Regions from separate parts of the Homo sapiens genome. Here regions 2, 3 and 4 are each linked to region 1. Evidence: promoter capture Hi-C in 16 types of primary human blood cells and fetal thymus (Javierre and others, 2016). All regions are on one chromosome and are shown on one strand. Each heading gives the region's core, a stretch centred on a gene start or on the middle of the fragment in contact. The rest is flanking DNA. Distances are from core to core; before and after follow the strand shown. Region 1 holds the start of HAMP (hepcidin antimicrobial peptide). Region 2 has its middle 6.7 kb from the start of ZBTB32. Region 3 holds the start of HAUS5 (HAUS augmin like complex subunit 5). Region 4 has its middle 4.6 kb from the start of LINC01766.

Region 1 (2,621 bases), core at 79-2,578:
GCCACTGCACACCAGCCTGAACGACAGAGCGAGACCCTATCTCAGAAAAAAAAAAAAAAGCTTATGGGGGCTTCCTCTTTATTCCAAGGAAAAATCAGTGTCTGCATGGTTGCCCACAAGACTTAGGGACTGCCCACCCCTCAGCCTTATCCCCAAGTCCCACCATCTCCTCTTGTTCAGCCTGACCCTGGGCTATGCTGGCTTGTCCTCTCCTTAGGTCTTTGCTGCCTCCATCTCTCACCCTCCAAGACGAAGGTCAACTGTCACTTTCTCATGAAACACTTGCTTGACTGCCAGCCCCTTGACCATGCCTGTGGTCCCCCAACCCGTGGCATGTGCCTGCTGTCCCAGCTACTTGGGACGCTGAGGTGGGAGGATTGCTTGAGCACAGGAGGTTGAGGCTGCAGTGAACTATGACTGCACCACTGCACTCCAGCCTCAGCAACAGAGGAAGACCCTGTCTCTAAAAAACAAACCAAAAAAGTGACTCTACTGTGTGGCGAATGGGTCACGGTCACTCTACCACTGTCTGTTATGAGATTCACGAATAGAATGTACTAGACACAATTATTTATTCATGTTTTCATCAGTCTTTAACAAATTCCCTGACCAGGATGGAGAAATCTCCTCTCTCATCTACCTTGTTCATGGCCTCGTCCCCACTGTCTAGAATAAGACTCCACACGGCGTAGGGGTTCCGTAAATACCCATGGAATTAGGACCTTCCAGTCCCTGTCACTCGGTGCTTCATTGATTTCTGTTCTTTTTTGGAGATGGAGTCTTGCTCTGTTGCCAGGCTGGAGTGCAGTGGTGCAATCTCAGCTCACTGTGCAACCTCCACCTTGCGGGTTCAAGCAATTCTCCTGCCTCAGTCTCCCGAGTAGCTGGGATTACAGGCACCTGCCACCAAGCCTGGCTAACTTTTGTATTTTTAGTAGAGACGGGGTTTTACCATGTTGGCCAGGCTGGTCTCAAACTGACCTCAAGTGGGCTGCCTGCCTCAACCTCCCAAAGTGCTGGGATTACAGGCATGAGCCACCGTGCCTGTCCTGGTTCCTGTTCAGCTGCCAGTACTCCTGAGACGTCCTGAGCTCTGCTCAGTGCTCGGGTGTCTCCAGTGCCCTAGGCTGAGGCCTGGCTCTCCCATCCCTGCTGCCCTGCTAAGGACCCAGGCCACTGGGCTCTCACCTGTTGTGGGAAAACAGAGCCACTGGTCAGGCTGGCGAGGAGGAGGAGGAGCAGGAGGCAAGCGGCCCAGATCTGGGAGCTCAGTGCCATCGTGCCGTCTGTCTGGCTGTCCCACTGCTGGGTCTTGAGCTTGCTCTGGTGTCTGGGACCGAGTGACAGTCGCTTTTATGGGGCCTGCCAGGGGAGGCGGTGGTCTGAGCCCCCTCCCCTTTGCTCTGTCTCATTTCCAAGAAGGTGGTGGCGCCGAAAAGGCGGGAGAGATAAGCGGGAACAGAGCGACAGGGAACAGGGTTGTGTCACCCTCAGCCGGCAGAGGTGTGTTCAGGGGGTGGGGCAGACGGGGTCACAGACACACACTGCTCACCAGCCATCTGGGGAGCCCTTTCCCCATCACGATGTCATTCTGCTGATCGGGAAAAAAGTTCCCCCTTTTGCTTCAGCGGTTAAGCAGTTTGATGAGCAGAATCAAGGTTCCGCTCTCCTCCACTCACTTCCCCATCGCCTACATGCACACGGGGCATGGCCAGCAGCCGCCAGGCTCCTCAGGAGTGTCTGGCATGTTGGGGGAAGCATCCATTGCTTTAAGCTCTCACCACACGTGCATAGGTTCTGGCAGGGAACACTAGATAGCCCTGAGCAGGGCAAGCATCAGCGTGTGCCCGATCCGCACGTGGTGTTTTCCCAGTGTCAGACCCTTGAGATGTGGCTCTGGTAACTGGAAAATGTTTGAGCAAACTTTTGGCCATAAATGACAGCAGTAATATGGCCCAGCACAGTGGCTTATGCCTGTAATCCCAGCAATTTGGGAGGCCAAGGCAGGAGGGTCGCTTGAGCCCAGAAGTTCAAGACTAGCCTGGGCAACATAGGGAGACCCCATCTCTACAAAAAAAATTTTAAACAAATTTAGCCAGGCGTGGTGGCACACATCTGTAGTCCCAGCTACTTGGGAGGCTGAGGCAGATCGCTTAAGCCCAGGAGGCTGAGGTTGCAGTGAGCTATGATTGTGTGACTGCACTCCAGCCTGGGTGACAGAGTGAGACCCTGTCTATAAAACATAAAATAGCAGTAATAGTAATAGCTAACATCTACAGTCCGATGAGTACATTTTATACGATGGCACATATGTTGACTCACTTCTGCACCAACTCAGCCTGTGCTGCCTGTTCTCCCAGCAGCACTTACTGCCCCACCTTCAGCTCTGCTCTGTATTCAGGGGCTGCCTTCTCAGTCACCCAACCCCAGAGGCCTGGGCTCCCCAGACCCTGCTCCCTTTTAGGAACCTCCTCCCCGTCGGACACTCATTTCCTTCACTTTACAGAAAAGGCACTGAAGGCAGAGATCAGGGCATGGCCCAAGCTTGCTCAGCCAGAGGCAGAGCTGAGATTCTAGCCTGGACAGCCTGACTCCAGGGCTTTTGCTCTTACCCACCAGGT
Region 2 (2,621 bases), core at 40-2,539, 420 kb before region 1:
CTGTGTTTTGTTTTTTTAGAGATGGGGTCTTGCTGTGTTGCCCAGGCTGGAGTGCAGTGGCTATTCACAGGTGCGATCGTAGCACACTGTGGCCTCAAACTCCTAGCCTCGGCGATCCTCCTGCCTCAGCCTTCTGAGGAGCTGGGACTACAGGCACATGCCAACATGCCCAGCTAATTACTACAAATTATTGAATCCTTTTTATGGGCCAGGAAGGCATGAGAAGATGGAGTGAGGGACCCTGGGCTCTGGCAAGATGGTATAGGAAGGGTTGTTGGCTTGGCTTGGGGGGTTGGACTGTAAGATTTGGAGAGTTAAATGTCTGAAAGAAGTAGAAAAATAAATAAAAAGCCCCTGCCTTCAGTTGCTTATTGAGCAACTCCCCATGCCAGATCCTACACTAACTAAGCTTAACTGTACACTGAGAAGCAGAGAGCCTTGCAGCCTAGGTAGCTGAATGCTGGATCCAAACTGTCTGCATCATATCCTGGCCCTGTTATTTACTAGTTGTGAGACCTTTGGCAAATTGCTTAACCCCTCTGGGCCTTAATCTCTTCATCTGGGCATATTAAATGGTCATATCATAAATGGGCATATTAATAGTACATATTGGCCAGGCATGGTGGCTCACACCTGTAATTCCAGCACTTTGGGAAGCCGAGGTGGGCGGATCACCTGAGGTCAGGAGTTCGAGACCAGCTTGGCCGACATGGTGAATCCCTGTCTCTACTAAAAATACAAGCCTGTAATCCCAGCTACTCGGGAGGCTGAGGCGTGAGAATCGCTTGAACCCAGGTGGCAGAGGTTGCAGTGAGCTGAGATCATGCCACTGCACTCCAGCCAGGGCAACAGAGTGAGACTATGTCTCAAAAAAAAAAAAAAAAAAAAAAAAGGGCTGAGTGGCTGAGTGCAGTGGCTCATGCCTGTAATCCCAGCGCTTTGGGAGAACGAGGCAGGCAGATCACCTGAGGTCAAGAGTTCAAGACCAGCCTGGCCAACACGGTGAAACCCCATCTCTACTAAAAATACAAAAATTAGCTGGGTGTGGTGGCAGGCACCTGTAATCCCAGCTACTCGGGAGGCTGAGGCAGGAGGATCGCTTGAACCTGGGAGGGGGAGGTTGCAGTGAACTGAGATTGCACCACTGCACTCCAGCCTGGGTGACGGAGCGAGACGTCATCTCAAAAAAAAAAAAAAGGTACATACTCCCGGTCGTGGTAGCTCACATGTGTAATCCCAGCACTTTGGGAGGCTGAGGTGAGAGGATTGCTTGGACTCAGGAGTTCAAGACCAGGTTGTGCAACATGGCGAATCCCCATGGCTACAAAAAATACAAAAATTAGCCAGGTGTGGTGGCACACACTTGTAATCCCAACTACTGGGGAGGCTGAGGTAAGAGGATCACCTGAGCCCAGGAGGTAGAAGCTACAGTGAGCCATGATTGCAACACTGCACTCCAGCTTGGGTGACAGAGTGAGAACCTGTCTCAAAAAAAAAGAAAAAAAGTGTGTACCTCTCAAAGTCATTGAGGGGATTAAATGAACTAATAGAGCAGTGGTATTTCTTCTTCTTTTTTTTTTTGAGATGGAGTCTGCCCTCCAGGCTGGAGTGCAGTGGCGCGATCTCGGCTCACTGCAACCTCTGCCTCCTGGGTTCAAGCGATTTTCCTGCCTCAGCCTCCTGAGTAGCTGGGACTACAGGCGCGGGCCACCACGCCCAGCTAATTTTTGTATATTTAGTAGAGACGGGTTTTCGCCATGTTGGCCAGGATGGTCTCGATCTTTTGACCTTGTGATCCACCTACCTCGGCCTCCTAAAGTGCTGGGATTACAGGCGTGAGCCGAATAGTGGCATTTCTTCTGTTCCCCAATGCCCTGTAACCGAGTTGTTTCCTTGCAATCAGTGTCATCTGCCTTGGCTGTGGTGTAGACCCTGAAAATTAAGGGATCATGGGAAAGCCTGGGGGCAGTGTGTTCCCAGAAGCAGTAGCAAGCGCAAAAGCCCCAAGGCAGGAGTGAGCTTAGTATATCTGAGGTACAGCAGGAAGTCCACCTGGAGCCAGGCAGCTGACTAAGACTCAGGAGCTCAGCTCAACGGCACGAGTGTTCATAACAGATGTGAAAATAACCCTGTACCTTTCAGAGAACAAAGGACTTTCCCCAAGCTTTGATCTCTGGAAAAACCCCAGACCATGATTACATTTGAGGCTCAGTGTCCACAGTTGCACAGGAATGAAGCTTAGAATTCAGGTCTTCTAGCTCTCTAGGGCCCATGCGTCAAGGTCAAGAAACTTACTTTCACTCAAATATTTATTAAACTCCTGGCCAGGCGCAGTGGCTCACACCTGTAATCCCAGCACTTTGGGAGGCCAAGGTTGGCTAATCACTTGAGGTCAGGAGTTGGAGGCCAGCCTGGCCAGCATGGCAAAACCCCATCTCTACTAAAAATACAAAAATTAGCCGGGCATGGTGGCGGGCGCCTGTAATCCCAGCTACTCAGGAGGCTGAGGCACAAGAATCGCTTGAACCTAGGAGGCAGAGGTTGTAGTGAGCTGAGATTGGGTCACTGCACTCCAGCCTGGGTGACAAGAGCGAAACTCCATCTCAAAAAAACAAAACAAA
Region 3 (2,621 bases), core at 68-2,567, 330 kb before region 1:
TGTCCTGGTGGCCATACCTAGGAAAACGAGGCCAGAGTCAGCGGATGAGTGGGGCTTCTAGGGGGGAGGGCAATAGGTGTGATGCTGTGGTGGGGACAGGGCTAAATGGGAGTGGGGAAGACAGGAGGGGATAGCTTTAAGAAGCAGTTACCAGAGTAGGTTTCCCCGGATCTTCTTGACAGTCCTACAGTGCAGAGGCAGAAAGAGGAGTTACTATGGGCCTCACCTGTGCCCCCTCCCCTGCTCTAGCCCAGCTTACCTCTGACTGTGCACATGCTGCAAGATGTAGGCCCAGATGTCAGCCCCCTGGCCCAGACACAGCCTGTGGGGACAGTGTGTAAGCATATGCCTGGGGCAGCACACAGGGTGTGGGATCCTCATTCCTAGGGTGATGGTGGTAGGGAGTTTTTACTAGGGAGTTCTCACTTCTTGAGGAGGGAAGGCCCAAACTTTTTTTTGCCTTTTTTTTTTTTTTTTTTTTAAGAGACAGTCTCGCTCTGTCGCAGTGGTACGATCATAGCTCCTTGCAGCCTCAACCTCCTGGGCTCATGCGATCCTCCCACCTCAGCCTCCAGAGTAGCTAGGACTACAGGCAGGCACCACTACACCCGGCTAATTGGTAAAACATTTTTTTTGTAGGGACTGGATGTTTGCACTAAGTGTGGTGTTATTCTCATTCCCTGGGAAGGCGGGTGGTGGGGGAGCGCGGGAGAGGCGGGTGCTCCCTTTCTCCTGGGAGTGGGTTATCCCAGTCACATCCAGAGGTGGAGGTGGGGGATGTACTGCCAGGAAGTGCCATCTCATGACCAGACGTGGGGCATCACTCCTACAGCTTCAATCCCCGATGGGGTGGCCACGGCTAACTCCTGAGTGTCCTTCTTGGTTAGGTTAAGGGAGGGAGGGGAGGTGCTGCGGGGACAGCCTCACTCTGGAGATCCTATTTCCATAAGGAGCGAGGTCTTAGCTAACTCGTGGAGGATCCTCACCAGTGCTAGGGACCTCACTCTGGGGAGCCTCCCAGGGTAGGGAGCCCTCAGTAAGTCGGGTCACTCTCGATGGGGAATTGGGGGGAGTCGAGTCCTCAATGAGGGGTGGAGTTCTCACTCCCGGAGACTCAATCTCCAGGGTGGGGTGTCCTCACTCCAGGAGCGGTCCTCACCTGCGCAGCGTCGATTCCGGGGCCCGGGCCGCCACGGGCACCCCCATCTCTTCGACCGCCCAGCAACCCAGTTCCCGCGCTTCCTGCGCTAGCTCCATGACAGCGCCGCGGCGGCGACACCGCCTCCCTCAGCCTCTTCAAGTGTGGCGCCCGCCTCTGACGTCACGGGCGCGCCAACAGTGACGTCATCGGTTGCCGGGCAGACAGCGGGCTCGGGCGCTGCATAGTAATCTTAGCGCGGTCAGGCTGGGTCTTGCAGCGCTCACTCTTCCCAGGTAGGTCTCCTTGAGTGGAAATGAAAAGGGCGTGGAGAGACTGCAGCCCCGCCCGCCTTCCCTCGTTCTCCCGCTCACTACCAGCTAACCCGAAAGAGGCAAAACAGTCCTTGATGCTTCCATTTATTTTCTTTTTCTTCTTTTAACTAAACACTTTTATTTTAATAGAGATGGGATCTCACTTGTTGCCCAGGCTAGTCTCAGCTTCTGGGCTCTTGAACTCCTGGGCTCAAGCGATCCTCCCGCCTCGGCCTCCCAAAATGTTGGGATTACAGGCGTGAGCCACCACGCTCACCCCCTTTATTTTCTTGACAAAATGGGACTTGCGTCCTAGGAGGACTGGAACCAGGCAATGAGATCCTGGACTTACTGCTCTTTGATTTCAGAAACAGGTGTCTCATGTCTGAGTGGAGGGTAGGGGCAGAGAGCATGACCCTAACATTTCCCTGGCATGCGTTTTCCCATTCATTCGTGCTTACCATTCCATAAACTCAGGGAGCTGACCCTGTGCTGGGTGATGCTGGGGACACCATGGTGACCACAACAGCCCTGGTCCCTATTGTACGGAGCTCACAGTTGAGTGGGGAGACAGACGCACCACCAGGTAGGGGTGGTAAAAATAAGCAGCAGGGGTGGGTCAATTTGGGACACAGCAGGTGTGAGAGGTCTGCGCTAGACCAGCAGTCCCCAACCTTTTGAGCATCAGGGACTGGTTTCATGGAAGACAATTTTTCCACAGTCTGGGGGATGGAGGGTGGGAGCAGTGGATGGTTTCGGGATGAAACTGTTCCACTTCAGGTCGTGAGGCATTATATTCTCTGTCTCTCTCTCTCTTTTTTTTTTTCTTCCCTGTTTTTTTTTTTGAGGTGAAGTCTCCCTCTTTCACCCAGGCTGGAGTGCAGTGGCCCGATCTCGGCTCAGCGCAATCTTTGCCTCCGGGGTTCAAGCGATTCTACTGCCTCAGCCTCCTGAGTAGCTGGGATTACAGGCGCCCGCTACCATGCCCAGCTAATTTTTGTATTTTTAGTAGAGACGGGGTTTCACCATGTTGGCCAGGCTGGTCTTGAACTCCTGACCTTAAGTGATCAGCCCATCTCAGCCTCCCAAAGTGCTAGCATTACAGGTGTGAGCCACCATGCCCCGCCTAAGCATTAGATTCTCATAAGGAGTGCGCAATCTAGATCCTT
Region 4 (2,621 bases), core at 72-2,571, 310 kb before region 1:
CGCCCGGCTCTGGCTATTTTTTTTTTAAGTGCATTATGAAAATATTTTATAACTTGTGTGTTTAGATCATGTGCCTTAAATATGATTATTGGTATGTTTTGCTTTAGGTCTACTATTATTTGTTTTTTATTTCCACTTTTCTGTGTTTTGTTCCTTGTTTTCCCTTTTCCTTCTTTCTTTTGGATTATTCAAATACTATTTTAGTACTCCATTTTAATTTATTTATTGTGATTTTCACTATATATCTTTGCAAGTTTTAAGTGATTGCTCTACGGATTATGGTAAACACACTTAAACATTCTATAGTCTACCTAGATTGAATATTTTGCAACTTCAAGTGGAATATGGAAAACTTCCACCATATTGGTCCCTTCATTGTCTCCCATGTATGCGTTAGCTTTCACATGCATTATAAAGACATGTATTGAAAATACATCCGTCCAGGGCTGTGGCTCACGCCTGTAATCCCAGCACTTTGAGAGGCTGAGGTAGGTGGATCACCTAAGGTCAGGAGTTCAAGACCAGCCTGGCCAACATGGTGAGACCCCGTCTCTACTAAAAATACAAAAATTAGCTGGGCATGGTGGTGGGCGCCTGTAATCCCAGCTACTAGGGAGACTGAGGCAGGAGAATCGCTTGAACCCAGGAGGTGGAAGTTGCAGTGAGCCAAGATCACACCACTGCACTCCAGCCTGGGTGACAGAGTGAGACTCTATCTCCAAAAAAAAAAAAAAAAGAAAAAAAAAAAACGAAAAGAAAAACGCCAGGCACGGTGGCTCATGCCTGTAATCCCAGCACTTTGGGAGGTTGAGGAGGGCAGATCCCGAGGTCAGGAGATCGAGCCCATCCTGGCTAACAAGGTGAAACCCCGTCTCTACTAAAAATACAAAAATTTAGCTGGGCGTGGTGGCGGGTGCCTGTAGTCCCGGCTACTCGGGAGGCTGAGACAGGAGAATGGCGTGAACCCGGGAGGCGGAGCTGGCAGTGAGCCGAGACCACACCACTGCACTCCAGCTTGGGTGACAGAGTGAGACTCCATCTCAAAAAAAAAAAAAAAAAAAAAAACCCTCCCAAAGTGCTGGGATTACAGGCGTGAGCCACCATGCCCAGCAGTCATTCCTTTCAATGGCAAAAACCGCAATTATTTTTGCATCAACTACACACACAGACACACACACACACACATATCTCATGTCACCTGCAGATACAGTTTTATTTCTTCCTTTCCAATCTAAATGCCTTTTTTTCTTTTTTGAGACAGAGTCTCACTCTATTCCTCAGGCTGGAGTGCAGTGTTGGTGTGATCATAGCTCACTGCAGTCTCAAAGTCCTGGGCTCAAGTGATCTCCCTGCCTCAGCCCCCTGAGCAGGTAGGACTACAGGCATGTGCCACCATGCTTGGCTAATTTTTTAATATTTTTTGTAGAGATGGGGTCATGCTGTGTTGCCTAGGCTGGTCTTGACATCCTAGTCTCAAGTGATCCTCCTGCCTCCCAAAGTGTTAGGATTACAGACGTCAGCCACTGCGCCGGGCCCTGTTTGCGTTTTTTTCTTGCAGTGACTAGAACTTCCAGCACTATGTCAAATAGGAGTGTCAAGAGCAGACATCCTTTCCTTGTTGTTGATCTTATAGGGAAAGTATTCCATCCTTCATCATTAAATATGATATATATTTGGTGTGTTTAAATCTATTATTGTTATTACTATTATTATTATTATTATTATTTGAGACGGAGTTTTGCTCTTGTTGCCCAGGCTGGAGTGCAATGGCGCCATCTCGGCTCACTACAACCTCCGACTCCCGAGCTCTAAGCGATTCTCCTGCATCAGCCTCCCGAGTAGCTGGGATTACAGGTGACTGTCACCACGGCTGGCTAATTTTTATATTTTTAGTAGAGACGAGGTTTCACCATGTTGGCCGGGCTGGTCTCGAACTCCTGACCTCAATTGATTTACCTGCCTCAGCCTCCCAAAGTCCTGGGATTACAGGAGTGAGCCACCGCGCCTGGCCGTTATTAATATTTTTGATGTTTAAGTTGTACCACTCTGGGCCAGTGGGCGCTCCTTCAAGTTAGCTTCTATGTCGAAAATAAAAATGATTTGTTAAGAGAAAGGTAAGTGATTAACAAGTGACTCCAGCAGGTAAAAAGATTGAATTGCTACTAACGGTCGATGGGAGGCAGTGTTGTCCACCTAGTGCTTAAGAACACGGCTTTTGGTGGCAGATTTCCTGGTTCCCAATCCTGGCCCCTCAGTGAATTCGCTGTGAGACCTGCACTGTGTCTTTCCAGCTCCCTGTGCTTTATCCTCAGTCTGTAAGAATGCAGGCTATAGGGTTAGTGTGGAGACCAAAAGAATCAATACTCCGAAGCTGCTCATAACAGTGGCTTGTACTTGACTCCGAGAGTTGCTGCTTTCACCATCATAGTGAAGACAAAGTACTCAAAATCTGCTACACGAAAAAGATTACAGGCCCAGAAGATTTTGCAGGCATGTTCACTCCAACTTTTTTTTTTTTTTTTGGAGATGGAGTTTCGCTCTTGTCACCCAGGCTGCAGTGCAATGGCGTGATCTTGGCTTACTGCAACCTCCGCTTCCCGGGTTCAAGTGATTCTCCTGCC

Evidence for each region. The method cuts DNA at HindIII sites, captures the fragments that hold promoters and counts their contacts. A CHiCAGO score of 5 or more calls a contact.
Region 2: a fragment that was not itself captured here is called in contact with the fragment with the promoter of HAMP in region 1 in 1 of 17 cell types (neutrophils); the score reaches 5.0 in neutrophils.
Region 3: the fragment with the promoter of HAUS5 here is called in contact with the fragment with the promoter of HAMP in region 1 in 2 of 17 cell types (M1 macrophages and naive B cells); the score reaches 6.9 in M1 macrophages.
Region 4: a fragment that was not itself captured here is called in contact with the fragment with the promoter of HAMP in region 1 in 2 of 17 cell types (total B cells and naive CD8 T cells); the score reaches 5.5 in total B cells.

The regions. Positions count from the first base shown.
Region 1 is chr19:35,281,235-35,283,855 of GRCh38, reverse strand. HAMP (hepcidin antimicrobial peptide) reads right to left here and starts at 1,328. Exons shown (of 3, transcript NM_021175.4): 1 at 1,189-1,328. The coding sequence starts at 1,278. RefSeq lists an enhancer at 957-1,466. The HindIII fragment of the contact is 2,484 bases long and covers 63-2,546 here.
Region 2 is chr19:35,696,531-35,699,151 of GRCh38, reverse strand. No RefSeq gene overlaps it. Among named protein-coding and RNA genes, the nearest start is that of ZBTB32, 6.7 kb to the left of the region's middle. The HindIII fragment of the contact is 1,755 bases long and covers 412-2,166 here.
Region 3 is chr19:35,611,431-35,614,051 of GRCh38, reverse strand. HAUS5 (HAUS augmin like complex subunit 5) reads right to left here and starts at 1,317. Exons shown (of 19, transcript NM_015302.2): 1 at 1,160-1,317; 2 at 260-322; 3 at 152-184; 4 at 1-17. The coding sequence starts at 1,257. It overlaps HAUS5-DT (HAUS5 divergent transcript), which reads left to right and starts at 1,388. Exons shown (of 2, transcript NR_186318.1): 1 at 1,388-1,434. RefSeq lists enhancers at 1,180-1,439, 1,028-1,583. The HindIII fragment of the contact is 7,658 bases long and covers 1-2,621 here.
Region 4 is chr19:35,592,016-35,594,636 of GRCh38, reverse strand. No RefSeq gene overlaps it. Among named protein-coding and RNA genes, the nearest start is that of LINC01766, 4.6 kb to the left of the region's middle. The HindIII fragment of the contact is 9,877 bases long and covers 1-2,621 here.